Linked DNA regions of Homo sapiens: all the other regions are linked to region 3. The links are contacts of gene promoters, found by promoter capture Hi-C in blood cells and fetal thymus (Javierre and others, 2016). All regions are on one chromosome and are shown on one strand. The core of a region is centred on a gene start or on the middle of the fragment in contact, and the rest is flanking DNA. Distances in the headings are between cores, read along the strand shown.

Region 1 (4,281 bases), core at 1,565-4,064, 1.2 Mb after region 3:
AGAGGAATTGTAAATAGAATTCAAAACCCTGACTGCCTGGAGAAGAGCCCCCAAATTCAGAACAGAATTCCTTAGACTGTTAACAGAGGGTTACAGAGTGTTCGGGGATCCATCTCTAAGCTTCTAGAAAATGCTTTCTTTACATGCTTGATAGCCTCAGTTACTGTACTTTGTAAGATGCTTTTGCTTGCTAAAGATAGCTTGTTTAAGATTAATTACTCCTGGGCCAGGCACTGTGGCTCACGCCTGTAATCCCAGCACTTTGGGAGGCCGAAGCGGGCGGATCATGAGGTCAGGAGATCAAGACCATCCTGGCCAACCTGGTGAAACCCCGTCTCCACTAAAAATACAAAAAAAAACTAGCTGGGCGTAGTGGCACATGCCTGTAATCCCAGCTACTCGGGAGACTGAGGCGGGAGATTCGCTTGAACCACAGAATCGGAGGTTGCAGTGAGCTGAGATGGCGCCACTGCACTCCAGCCTGGTGACAGAGTGAGGATCCATCTCAAAAAAATAAATAAATAAAAATAAAAACAAAGATTAATTACTCCTTGGGCCCTGGTCTGAATGGGAAAAGTGCCGCGGCAACAACTAAATATATAAAGCACGGGTCGGAACAACGTAGATTTCTCCTGCCAGCTGATCTCCTTTTTCTCCCCTCATAAGTAAAATTCTCATTCATTCACTCAACAAAATAACCCTGATAGATCAAGGCACTTCCCTTTGTATCTAGAGCTATTTATTTGGCAACTGAAAATTGCTGAAGGTCCTTTCAGGAGGATCCCAGAGTTCTAGCTGTGTTCCGGTGTGAAGAAAGGGCAAAAAATATAAGAAACATTATCTTAAATCTGTATTTTGCTTTTGATGCCACACAGTAATTTCAGATGCACAGTGCCCTTGAATTCTCACAAGTCTTTGAGGTAAAGAAAAAGGTAAGGCATGACCAAGTCTGAGGCGCAGAAGGAAATCTCAGATATGAGAGAGACACCTTGGAAAATGGGTAAGCAAAGGAGGAAAAGTCCTTTTTTTTTTTTTTTTTTAAGAAAAAGCCTTCTTTTCTTCCCTTGGAAGAGTGGCTTCTGAATGAAATGAAACCTTATAGATGAAACATCAAGCTCCCTCATTTTATGATGAAGAAACTGAGGCCCAGGGAGTAATTGGTATTGAATATTCCAAGAATAGTGGCAAGACTTTCAGGTAGCTTTTCTAACTCCAGTGCAGGGGACAAATTTGGATTCTAGAAGAGAGGGTGAAGAAAGCAAAGGCTCTCTATTCTGTCTGCTGCTTATCCTATCAACTCTTTTCAAGCTTCTAACTTGGGGCACAGTTAAACTGATTGGCCTGGAGACTCAGCATTTATAGACCTTAAGGCTGCCAAGTATGGATAGCTTCGAGGAGAATTTGATCACAACTGTGGATGGTTGCTCCAGTCATTGTGAATAGAGTCAGCAGATGTATGAAAAATATGATGCAAGTCAGTTTTTTGAGCCAAGAACGCTAGCACTTTGAGTATTTGCTGAATTGAATAAACACATCATTGCAATTAAAGGCTTTAAAATATGAGTTGGAGCCCACACCAACTTAGCATTTTCCATAGGACACAAAAATTTTGGGGATCTATGAGCTAGAGATCTGGAAGGACAGAATTTTCTTTGGCTTTGTGTGCTCCCGAGTTAGCATGGAAACAGTCATAAGCATGCATCTTTATCCTTTACCTATTTCCCACATTATCCAGAATTTTCCACGTTACCCAGAAAGCCACTCTTGCTGCTTTAAAGTCAACTGTCTTCATCATTCAAAGTTCCCCCTAGCCATTATCTGTGCCTCCATTGCAAATCTCTGTGCCTCCATTGCAAATCTATTTCCTTTTCTTCTGTTCAGCAGCAGACATATCACCTGTCTTTAAAAGCACAGTTCTGGGTGCATTGCTGACTATCAAAATCTGTCAGCAAATAATTCTGACTCCTATAACTTTTCCTCCCAGACTCTCCATTCTTACCTTTTTTTTGGTTTGTTTTTTTTGAGATGGAGTCTTACTCTTTTGTCCAGGCTGAAGTGCGGTGGTGTAATCTCGGCTCGCTACAACCTCTGCCTCTCGGGTTCAAGGAATTCTTGTACCTCAGCCTCCTGAGTAGCTTGGATTACAGGCACGCACCACCGTGCCAGGCTAATTTTTGTATTTTTAGTAGAGACAGGGTTTCACTATGTTGGCCAGGCTGTTCTCGAATTCCTGACATCAAGTGATCTGCCTGCCTCAGCCTCCCAAAGTGCTGGGATTACAGGTGTGAGCCACCACGCCGAGCCATTTCTTTCTTTCTTTTTTTTTTTCTTTGTTTTGAGACGGAGTCTCGCTCTATCGCCCCAGAATGGAGCGCAGCCGAGCCATTTCTTTCTTTCTTTTTTTTTTTCTTTGTTTTGAGACGGAGTCTCGCTCTATCGCCCCAGAATGGAGTGCAGTGGCGCGATCTCGGCTCACTGCAAACTCCGCCTCCTGGTTCAAGCGATTCTCCTGCCTCAGCTTCCTTAGTAGCTGGGACTACAGGCGCCTGCCACCACACCTGGCTAATTTTTTGTATTTTTAGTAGAGACTGGGTTTCACCGTGTTAGCCAGGATGGTCTCGATCTGCTGACCTCGTGACCTGCCCGCCTCTGCCTCCCAAAGTGCTGGGATTGCAGGTGTGAGCCACCGCGCCCGGCCCCCGAGCCATTTCTTAATCCTTTTGAAAGCTCCTTAGTATTCTTTTAAACATATTTTCTCCTGTTAGTGGTGGTTGAAGACTTCAGGTTGTGCCTCTGGGAAACTGGGAAATTTGAAAGAGTCTGCATTTACTTGGTAACTATTGTAGGTTATCACCAACCACAACAGAATCAAGTCCTTGGTGTTTTACTCAGCATCCTTTTAACCCAGCTGCCCTTTAAATAATTTGCTGTTATTAATAGCGGTCTTCGTAAATAAAGCAGTAATAAAGGATTCTTTAGTTGTTTCCTGTGTGTTTTATACCAGATCCTGAGCCAGGATTCTGCCTTCTCCTTTAGCACTCTCTGCCAATACAGTTCTACTCCCCTTACCCTAGTTCACAACACTATGTGATGTTACAATATCCTACATTTAAAAACTCACCAATTGTTTTCTGCAAATCAACAACTACCGAGGCATTGCAACAAAAAAAAAAAAAAAAAAAAAAGAAAATCAAATGGTAACAAAGAAGGGATCTGGACTGAAAAATATTCCACTGCCAGAGTCCCATCTTCATCCAACCAGCAGAGACACAGCTTCAGGCAGCCTTACAGCTCAGAAAGGGCAAGCCCAAAGCTGGGAAGAGGTGGCGGGAGGTAACTGGCATCTAACCCTTCCTGCTCTCCAGGGGGCACAACCACAAGCACTAAGGAAATAAGTGCCATCATCGTGGTGGATAGATTTGCTATTCTTGGCCTTAAACTCTTCCATGGAAAAACAATTGAGAGAGTTCTTTGGAAGTTGGTCCTACTGGGAATAATACTCTTCCATAGATGCCTTTGCATTAAAGCTGGGTTTCAGAGACTGTGCAGATTTTTGTTTCAGTAAAAAGCTACCTTAAGAGGAGAGAATACAAAACCATCAAAAAGTGGTTTGGTTCATTTATAAGAATGGAAGTTTTTGCAACAGCAGAAGTAACCAAAAAGTAGGTCAGGTGCAAAAATAGTAACCAGCTCAATTCATTTTTAACAGCTTATGTTTTACTCTGGAGGCTTCCATTTTGGCGATGGTGACCTCTACATGTGGACTCTTACAAATAAGCCCCTAAGAAGGGTTCCCCCTTTTTTCCCCCTCTTATAAAGAGCATACTCCAATCCTTAACTCTGGTAGTGTATAGTATTTAACAGAAGTAAGAACTAGTTCATGCAAAAAATCAGAATAAACATTATTGAATATCTACTCTGAGCCTAGCACAGTGCTTGTTGCTGTTGTATAAAGATAACTAAGACACATTCTCTACCCTCAAATAGCTCACCATCTGGCATAAAAAAAAGACATGCAAAGAGATATTAGTAACACAGTGAGAGGTGCTGCATATATGCAGGCCTTCATGGGGGCATGAAGGAGGAAGTGGCCAGCTCTGTCTGCAGAGTGGGAAAGGCTTCCCTGGCTGGGATTGTGAAAGATGGTTAGGAGTTCACGGAATGGCAGCATGTTAGGCAGGACCAGGAGGATGCAAGCAAAAGTAGCACATGGGTAAGGTCTTCAGGACAGAAACAAACTGAGTGTTGGAGGACTGGCCAGAAGATTAAAATGGCGAGAGC
Region 2 (4,218 bases), core at 1,662-4,161, 1.0 Mb after region 3:
AGTTTGGAACTTCCTAGAGACTTGTTGAATGGCTTTGACCAAATGCTGCTCATCTCAGATGGAGATGAGGAACAATTGTTGGGAACTGGAATAAAGGTGACTCTTAATATGTTTTAGCAAAGAGACTGGCAGCATTTTGCCTGTGCCCTAAAGATACGTGGAACTTTGAACTTGAGAGAAATTATTTAGGGCATCTGGTGGAAGAAATTTCTAAGCAGCAAAGCATTCAAGAGGTGGCTTGGTTGCTGTTAAAAGCATTCAGTTTTATATGTTCACAAAGATGTGGTTTGGAATTGGAACTTATGTTTAAAAGGATAGCAGGGCATAAAAGTTCAAAAAATTTGCAGCCCAATGATGCAATAGAAAAGAAAAACCCCTTTTCTGAGGAAAAATTCAAGCCAGCTGCAGAAATTTGCATTAAGTAATGAGGAGCCAAATGTTAATCACGAAGACAATGGGGAAAATGTCTCCAGGGCATATCAGAAACCTTCATGGCAGCCCCTCCTATCACAGGCCTGGAGGCCTTGGAGGGAAAAATTGTTTCATGGGCTGGACCCAGGGCCCCCCTGCTCTTTGCAGCCTCCAAACATGGAGCCCTGCATGCCAGCTGTTTTAGCTCCAGCCATGGCTAAAAGGGGCCAACATACCACTCAGGCTGTTGCTTCAGAGGGTAAGCCTTGGTGGCTTACATGTGGTGTTGGGCCTGTGGATGCACAGAAGTCAAGAATTGAGGTTTGAGAACCTCTGCCTAGATTTCAGAGGATGTATGGAAATGCCTGGATGTCCAGGCAGAAGTTTGCTGCAGGAGTGGGACCCTCATGGAGAACCTCTGCTAGGGCAGTGTGGAAGGGAAATGTGGAGTTGGAGCCCCCACACAGAGTCCCCACTGGGGCACCGCCTAGTGGAGCTGTGAGAAGAGGGCCATCATCCACCAGACCCCGGAATGGTAGATCCACCGAGAGCTTGCACCGTGTACCTGGAAAAGCCACAGACACTTAATGCCAGCTCATGAAAGCAGCCAGGAGGATGGCTGTACCCTGCAAAGCCACAGGGGAAGAGCTGCCCAAGGTTGTGGGAGCCCATCTCTTGCGTCACCTGGATGTGAGGCATGGAGTCAAAGGAGATCATTTTGGAACTTTAAGGTTTAAGACTGCCCTATTGGATTTAGGACTTGCATGGGGCCTGTAGCCCTTTTGTTTTGGACAATTTCTCCCATTTGGAATGGATATATTTACTCAGCACCTGTACCCCCATTGTATCTAGGAAGTAACTAACTTGCCTTTGATTTTACAGGCTCATAGGTGGAAGGTACTTGCCTTATCTCCGATGAGACTTTGGATTTAGACTTTTGGATTAATGCTGGAATAAGTTAAGATTTTGAGGGACTGTTGGAAGGGCATTATTGTGTTTTGAAATGTGAGGACATGAGATTTGGGAGGGGCCGGGGTGGAATGATATGGTTTGGCTGTGTCCCCACCCAAATCTCACCTTGAATTGTAATAATCCCCGTGTGTCAAGGGCAGGGCCAGGTGGAGATAATTGAATCATGAGGGCAGTTTCCTCTATACTGTTCTTGTGATAGTGAATAAGTCTCACAAGATCTGATGGTTTCATAAAGGGGAGTTCCCCTGCACACGCTCTCTCTTGCCTGCCACCATTAAGACATGACTTTGCTTCTCCTTTGCCTTCTGCCATGATTGTGAGGTTTCCCTGGCCATGTGGAACTGTGAGTCCATTGAGCCTCTTTCCTTGATAAATTACCCAGTCTCATGTATGTCATTATTAGCAGTGCGAGAATGGACTAATACACCCCATCTCTACAAAAAGTTAGCCAGGTGTGGTGGTGCACGCCTGTAGTCCCAGCTACTCAGGAGGCTGAGATGAGCCTGGCAATTGCTTGAGTCTGGGAATTTGAGGCTGCAGTGAGCCATGATGACACAACTGCATTCCAGCCTGGGTAACAGAGCAAAAAAATAAAAAATAAAAAGGTAGGAACTATTTTATTATTAACAGAGTCTGTCTTATTCTGCTGTTGTTGACATTTTACAGATCCTTTATTGCCAACTATCTGCATAACTAGATTTTAAGTTCCTTGTATGCAGAAGTCATGTATTATTTTTTAAAATTTTCCTTATATTGATCTGTTTTTTTTTAATAGTAAAGATTGTTGAATCTGAACATTAGATGACAATGTATTTGTCCAGCATTTCTCCATTTGAAATTATCTCACATTATTATGTGAGACTTGTTCATGTGCTTTGCTGGAGTTGAGACTTAGACAGTCTGTGTTTTTTTATTTAGCAAAGATAATCCAAGTTAAAATAGTGTTGTGTGTTCCTATAGGAAAACTAGGCCCAGTGTTATAACAGAGTGTAAGTAATAATAGCCACTAGGAGGTAAGTACCTGCTCTGTGCCAGGAGCTATGCTTCAGATTTGAGATGTTTTTATTTAATTGTCACACTGATTTTATTACATAGGGAACATTTAATAGGAGAACAAAGCTTAGGTAGGTTCAGTAATGTGTCCAAGTTCACACAGCAAATAAGTGGCAGAGTGAACTTGAACTTTGATTCTCTCTGAATCAGAACCTATTCCTTTATATGCTCTGTTGTATCCCTAGCCTGAGATCCACTAAGCAACTTTTTGAAGATGAGTACTACTGATTTCTTATATCCAACATGTATACATTGTCCAATGAAATTCTGCTAAAACATGGGAAATATAGGTCAGCACAATTACCAGTCATGCAAAATTGTATTTAATATCATAATTTGTAATGGTGAGGGGTGCTTCTTTGGGACATAGAATTTACAATGGCAATTTATTGACATATTTATTATTAACATTATTATATTTACATTCTCTAGGTACCCACATTTCACTCCTAGACACTTTTGCATAATCTCAATAACATCATAACATCTATAAATATTAACACTAATCCTGTAACATCACCTAACTTTTACCCGTATTCAGATTTCCCCACTTGTCACAAGAGTGTCTTTTGTTAAAAAACCCGGATCTAATCAAGTTTCACTCATTGTATTCGTTGCTATGTTTTTTTGTTTTAATTTTGATGGGCATCTTTCAGAAGTTTTAAAATAGTCTTAGAACCTCTTTTTAAGAACCAGATTTGAATAATTTATTTTATTGACCTCCTTGTCACTCTAACATTTCTTTAGTAAATACAGGCTTTGAGGGTAGGTATTGGTTTCTCTGTTTAAAAGTAGAAACTTTGCATAAATCAGCCCTTATATGTGTAAGTTTTCTGCCTTTTGGTTTCTTCTCATGCTGTTTCTGCACAAGTGCCTAAGCTTTTTTGAAGCTTTACTTGAGGGGTGACCAGAAGGTTTTACTTAAGGACACAGACCCTTAAATTCTGCAATGACAAATCTCAACTTCCATCTCAGGGTTGTAAGTGAAACCAGGATGCAGCCGTTTCTCTTTTCTCAGATAAGTTCAGGTTTGAATATAAAGTGTGACTATAAGATACAGAGACTGTCCCTAGAAAAGGAGGGGAAAACATTTTAGCAGTTCCTCTTTGGAGATAACTTTCAGTGCCTGCCCATCAGCCTCCAAGGAAAATGCTTTTTGGTTACTTTATAGGTTCTAGTGAACTTTGCTTACTTTACAATGTTCCCCAAAATGTCTGTTGAGATTAGTGCCTGAATTTCCACTGGGCTGACCAGTCTGTAGTTTCTTGAACATTTTCTTCCTATGCCAGTTAAAAATTAGAAGAAAATTGAAGTTTAACATACACATTCAGAAAAAAATAAAAAATCAGATTAATAAGAAACTAATGAGGCTGTGCCATTGTAAACTACTTGCAATAGAGTTTCCCAACGATGAACTGAGTATCTAGAAAATAACAAGGATTCTCAAGGAATTTTAGTGAAATGATCAGTACTGTATTGAAATACCTTGAATCAGACTTTGGAGAATAGATTTAAAAACACTCACAGCCTTAACCGATCTAGTAAGAACCTTATTCCCTAAAGCATACTGTGGATCTCAGCTGTATCCTATCTAAGGTGAGAACAGTCAAAGACAAATGTGGCCTTTGAGAAAGGTGGGATGTGAGTGTCTTGAAACAACAGGCTAAAGAAGTGCTCTCAAATAGAAGTATAATATGGAACATGTGAAATTAATTTTAATAATATATTTTAGTTAACCTAATATATCCATAATATTTTCATTTCGACATGTATTAGGTTGGT
Region 3 (4,884 bases), core at 181-2,680:
CATTTCTCCAGGGGAGCGCCCTTACTTGGAGGTAGCGCTGCTTGGTTTTCTCGCCCGCCAGCGTTGAGTTCAGGTGTGCAGGCTACCAACCTGTATTCTTCAGGTAAGTCACCCTCCTCTGACTCGCCTCCCACCCTGCTCCCTCCTGCCTCGCGACCAGTGCGAAGGGAGTCCCCGAACTGCGACACCTCCCGGGGCAGCCGCACCGGTATCCGTCCGAGTCGACCCACTTGCCGTGGCTTTTCACCTACGCAGTAAAGCAAGTTTCATTTTCAAAAGGAGAGGAAGCAGGTTTCACAGACACCGCATTCCCAAGAAGTTTCTGAGAGACGCGCAGCGCACAAGTCACTGGCTTGGATCCCTTTGCTGCTCATGGTGTCCACAGTCTGATGTGAGCGCATTAAATTTAAGGATCTCCGCCCTTCTCCTTAAAACTCAGGACTTGGCAATGAGCCTAGGAAGCGCCCCTCCCCTCCCCAACCAGATCCAAGCCCCGGACCGCTGCGTCTCCAGCTGCGCCTAGTGAAACCGCCGAATTCGAATTCACACTCGGCGGGCCGGCGAAGGTGTGCGCGCCCGCGGGAGCGCCGGGGCGAGCCCGAGGGACTGCAAGCCAGGAAGGGAGGCATGGGTGGCGGGGGGCGCCGTCTGATCCAGGTAGGAGCGGAGGCGCCGATCACACACTCTTCAGACGCCCTGCCCGCGCCTGGCCAGCGCGCAGCCTGCAGGACGCGCGGAGCAGGAACTCGCTGGAGTTTGCCAAGCCCCAGGTCTCTGGAAAGTTGTAGCTCCCTTTCGGAGCGTCTCTTCTGGCCCTTTGGGACGGGTGTGTCAGGGGCGGGGGTCCTCGAGGGAGCAGGAGGGGAAAGGAGCACCGGGTCTCGGCACCTGTCCGCAGCTCCCCTCGGGTCCGCCTGCCCCCTACCAGGCTGGGCAAAGACCTGAGCACCACTTAGTGGGGGCGGACCCCCACTAAGTGAGCTCGCGGCTCCCTGGGGCTGCTGCCGCATCGCCGCACCTTTAGAGGAGGGGGGTCGCGGACTCACCTGGGCAATAGAAGAGGAGGCGACAGAGGCAGGTCCTTGGCGTGGGCAGGCCCCAGCAGGAGCGGCGCGACCTCTACAGCCCCTAGGCAGCGGCACCGAGTGAGCCGTCCCGCCGCCGCCCCCTCCGTTCTTATACGGCGGGACCACGCCCCCGTCCCCGCCCCTGAGCCGCCCTCCCGGGGGAGCCAGGGGCGGGGCGTGGCGGAGCCAGTCCCCTCGGGACCCTTCCGCCCGGCCCTGACGGCAGGGGCGGGGCGAGGGCTGCCCTCTGATTGGCTCTTCGGGTGAATGGTTGCCAAGAGACGAGTAAATCCTCAGCGGCGGGAAGGGGCGGGGTGCTCAGGGAGGCAGCACTGCGCAAGCGCAATAGAGGGGGCTGCGTCGACACCCACTTAACTTCGGAGTTAGTGGGACACCTTTCTTTTTGCTTAGTACGCTTTTCTGCTATTCCTGCCGCATAACTCTCTCTTCCCCAGGCTTTTCCCATCTCCATCCTATTCTCTCGCAGGCAGGTTTTTCTTCCGCCTCTCTGGGGATTTTCGCGTTGGTTCTCCCTGCCCCCAGGAGTGAGGCGGGTAACGCCCACGCCTACCTCCGGTGTGTGTTTTTGAAGTCGGAAAAAACTTAATGGTTTCTGGGCCCTGGGCACCTTTCTGATTCCCCAAGCAAACTGGCTGGAGGCGAAGGCGTGGTCTTCGGGGAGAGAGCGCCGGCGGCTCTCTGGCCCCGGGGACCACCTGTGTGCAGTTAGTGGGACGAAGGGCCTCGGGGAGTCCATCGCCAATGTCGGCAGCCGCAGCCGCTTCGGCCCCATTCGGAATGCCACAGCACTTGGTCCAGTGTGTTATATAACATGCAGGCAGGGCTTGGACACCATCCATTCATAACATAGCGAGTGGTTTACAGCCCAGGTTCTGAATTCAGACTAATCTGAGTTGAGATCTCCATGCACCACTTAAACTTTCTGTAAGGCCTTAGGCAAGTAACTGAACCAACCCTCCAACAACCTGCGTCTCCTATCTGTAGGACAAGACTAACAATGGGACAGCTCTGTAGAATTATATAAGTATTAAGAAAATACGTGGGAAACAATTAGTGCATTGCCTAGTGCCTGTTAGAAAGTGTGTGGCAAATGCTGTATGTATCAGATAGTAGCCAATGTTGGACAATGTTATTTATCAATAGACATTATTGTACTTGTATTGATCGTTTACTAGGTGCTGGGGGAAAAGATTACTTCCCAGATGCAGTATTTACATCTCCTCCGCCCTACTCTTCCAACCCTGCCTGAAATAAGTGTGGTTCTCCTGTCTGTCAGACTATGAAGAGTTCTCAAATATGTCTTTCCCAGCGAGGGAGAGGAGAGTGAGTATCCAGGAACTTTAATGCGATAGGACATCAATATGAGTGTTTATAGGGAAAGCCAGTGATCCTATTGTTAGACGCGAAATCAAGACATATGATCTGATTTTTTGTTTTACTTTTTGTTTTTGAGGTATAACATTCAGTAAAGCGCACAAATCAAAAGTGTCCAGAATGATAATTTTTTACATATGCATACCCATGTAACTGCCATCCATATCAAGATGTGGAACCTTTCCAGCTCATTCATGCCCCTTCCCATTCAGTATCCGACAAGGATTACCACTATTTTAACCTCTATCACCATAGATTAGTTTTACCAATATTTGAACTTGCTATGGATGAAATACATAACACGTACAATTTTATGTCTGGCTTCTCTTGCCCAACAGTGCGTCTATGAGATTCATCCATATTGTTGTGTGTAACAATGGTCCATTCTTTTTCACTACTGTGTATTACTTCATTATATAAATATTCAACGATTTGTGTACTCATCCTACTGTTGGTGGACATTTGAGTTGCTTCATGTTTCTGCCTTTGATGAAGCTGCTGCAGACATTCTTACACATGTCTTTTGGTGGACATAGCATTCATTTATGTTGGATATATATATATACCTAGGATTGGATTCCTGGTTCATAGAGTGTTCACATATTAAACTTTAAATACACTGCCAGTTTTTAAATTCGTATAACAATTTAGGTTCCAACCAGTGATATGAGATTTCCGGTTGTTTCACATCTTTGCCAGTATTGGTATTTTCAGTCTTTTTAATTTAAAAAGGGGGGGGATATGTATTTCATTGTGATTTAAAATTGCATTTTTTGATGATCAAGGATGTTGAGCAATTTTTCAGATGCTTATTGTTCATTTCAATACCCTTTTAATAAAGTGTCTGTTCAAGTCTTTCGCTCATTTGTAGGGAGTTGTCTGTCCTAATGACCTATAAGAGTTCTTTACATATTCTGAATATGAGCCCTTTGTCCAATATATGTATAACAAATATCTTTTCCCAATCTGTGTTGACTTTTAATTATTCTAATGTTATCTTTTGATGAACAGAAGCACTTAATTTTAAAGACATTCAAAATATTAATCTTATCTCTTATGACTAGTGTTTTGTATGTCCTGTTTAAAATAATCCTAAGCCCATAAAAATAATATTCTTTGTTTTCTTCTAAGAACTTCATTGTTTTAACTTTCACTATCTGTAATAAGGCCTTGGGCAAGTAACTCAACCATCCTTCCATAAACTTCCAACCACAATAAAGTTAATGCAAATTATTACATTGGCCTTTCAACCATTTCTACTCTTTCAGTGCCTCTTGGAAACCATTAGTACAGTTAGTCTCAAGGTAGAACACAGGACAGAAATTCTTAACCTAAAATTTGACCCAGCATGGTTTAGTTCCACCTTTTCCTGGGTGAAATTTTATTCAACTTCCTGAATAAAATTAGGCAATTCTATGGTAGGTGAGAGGTGAGAGCTAAGAGCAGAAAAGAAACTCACTATATATGAGTTTCTCAAATATATATACATGTATATATATATTTTTTTCTTGGGCCCCTTTGTATTCCTGATGCATTAATGGACTTTTCTAGAATTGTGTTTCAGGGTTGTTTTTTTTTTTTTTTTTTTAAATACACTGTGTTCTTTCTGCCTCATAAAACTGGCATCCTGGAGCTGGCAGGAGTCTTAGAAAGTGGCCAAGTTCTGCCCGTTGGACACGGAACCAGATATTCAAACTCTTCTTCCTAGATTATTGGTGCCTTCTTCTTGCCAAATTCCAGCCCCTGCTGAGCACATCCAATCAGAATGGTTTAAAGACCTTCTTTGCATTCTGAATGATTCACTGGATTCACTGATTTATACCTAGGGAAACCGAGGGACAAAACAGTCTTTAAAATGCAAGCGTACCTCACTTGTAGTGATGATCCTGAAAGAGTTTTACGTCTCAATAGATTCTGATTTTAATACTTCAGAAAAACAAAGAAATTCCACCATAGTCCTACTGTAAGTCAAGAAAGACCTTTTGTATAGTGTCTAGTTATCTCCTGATCTATCAGTTTCTTTGAGCAATTTCTTAAGTCTTGAGTTTTTTGTAATAAAAACATTACAAATGTTTATTCAAATGCCCCCATCTAAATATTTTATTTTTCTTAAAATGATTTTTATGTGAAGTTCTTGTCCACATTTAACATACATGTAGAGAAGTACACAGCTCATAAGAGCACAGCTCAATGAATTTTCACAAACGGAATGAACCTGTGTTGCTAGCATACAGATCAAGAAACAAAGGAACATCAAAGCATTTGTGGACATATTTTATTTTATTTATTTTTTTTTATTTTTTTATTTTATTTGGTCTTTTTTCATGATATGTGTATCAGCAGTTCTTTCTTTTTTTATATATACTTGAAGTTTTAGGGTACATGTGCACAACGTGCAGGTTAGTTACATATTTTAAAACCA

Evidence for each region. The method cuts DNA at HindIII sites, captures the fragments that hold promoters and counts their contacts. A CHiCAGO score of 5 or more calls a contact.
Region 1: a contact is called between a fragment that was not itself captured here and the fragment with the promoter of TENT5C-DT in region 3, in 1 of 17 cell types (neutrophils). The highest score is 8.6, in neutrophils.
Region 2: a fragment that was not itself captured here is called in contact with the fragment with the promoter of TENT5C-DT in region 3 in 1 of 17 cell types (naive CD8 T cells); the score reaches 5.4 in naive CD8 T cells.

What each region holds. Positions count from the first base shown.
Region 1 is chr1:116,367,538-116,371,818 of GRCh38, reverse strand. No RefSeq gene overlaps it. Among named protein-coding and RNA genes, the nearest start is that of ATP1A1, 3.6 kb to the left of the region's middle. The HindIII fragment of the contact is 3,007 bases long and covers 1,311-4,281 here.
Region 2 is chr1:116,560,099-116,564,316 of GRCh38, reverse strand. All of the region lies in intron 1 of CD58 (CD58 molecule), which reads left to right. LOC105378925 (a long non-coding RNA gene) reads right to left here. Exons shown (of 3, transcript XR_947739.2): 3 at 3,130-4,218. MIR548AC (microRNA 548ac) reads left to right here and starts at 4,206; the gene lies at 4,206-4,218. RefSeq lists an enhancer at 1,650-1,799. The HindIII fragment of the contact is 813 bases long and covers 2,505-3,317 here.
Region 3 is chr1:117,602,316-117,607,199 of GRCh38, reverse strand. It overlaps TENT5C-DT (TENT5C divergent transcript), which reads left to right and starts at 1,430. Exons shown (of 3, transcript NR_121626.1): 1 at 1,430-1,554; 2 at 2,264-2,411. It overlaps TENT5C (terminal nucleotidyltransferase 5C), which reads right to left and starts at 1,152. Exons shown (of 2, transcript NM_017709.4): 1 at 1,047-1,152. RefSeq lists a silencer at 1,087-1,426 and enhancers at 1,337-1,837, 1,838-2,338. The HindIII fragment of the contact is 6,964 bases long and covers 1-4,884 here.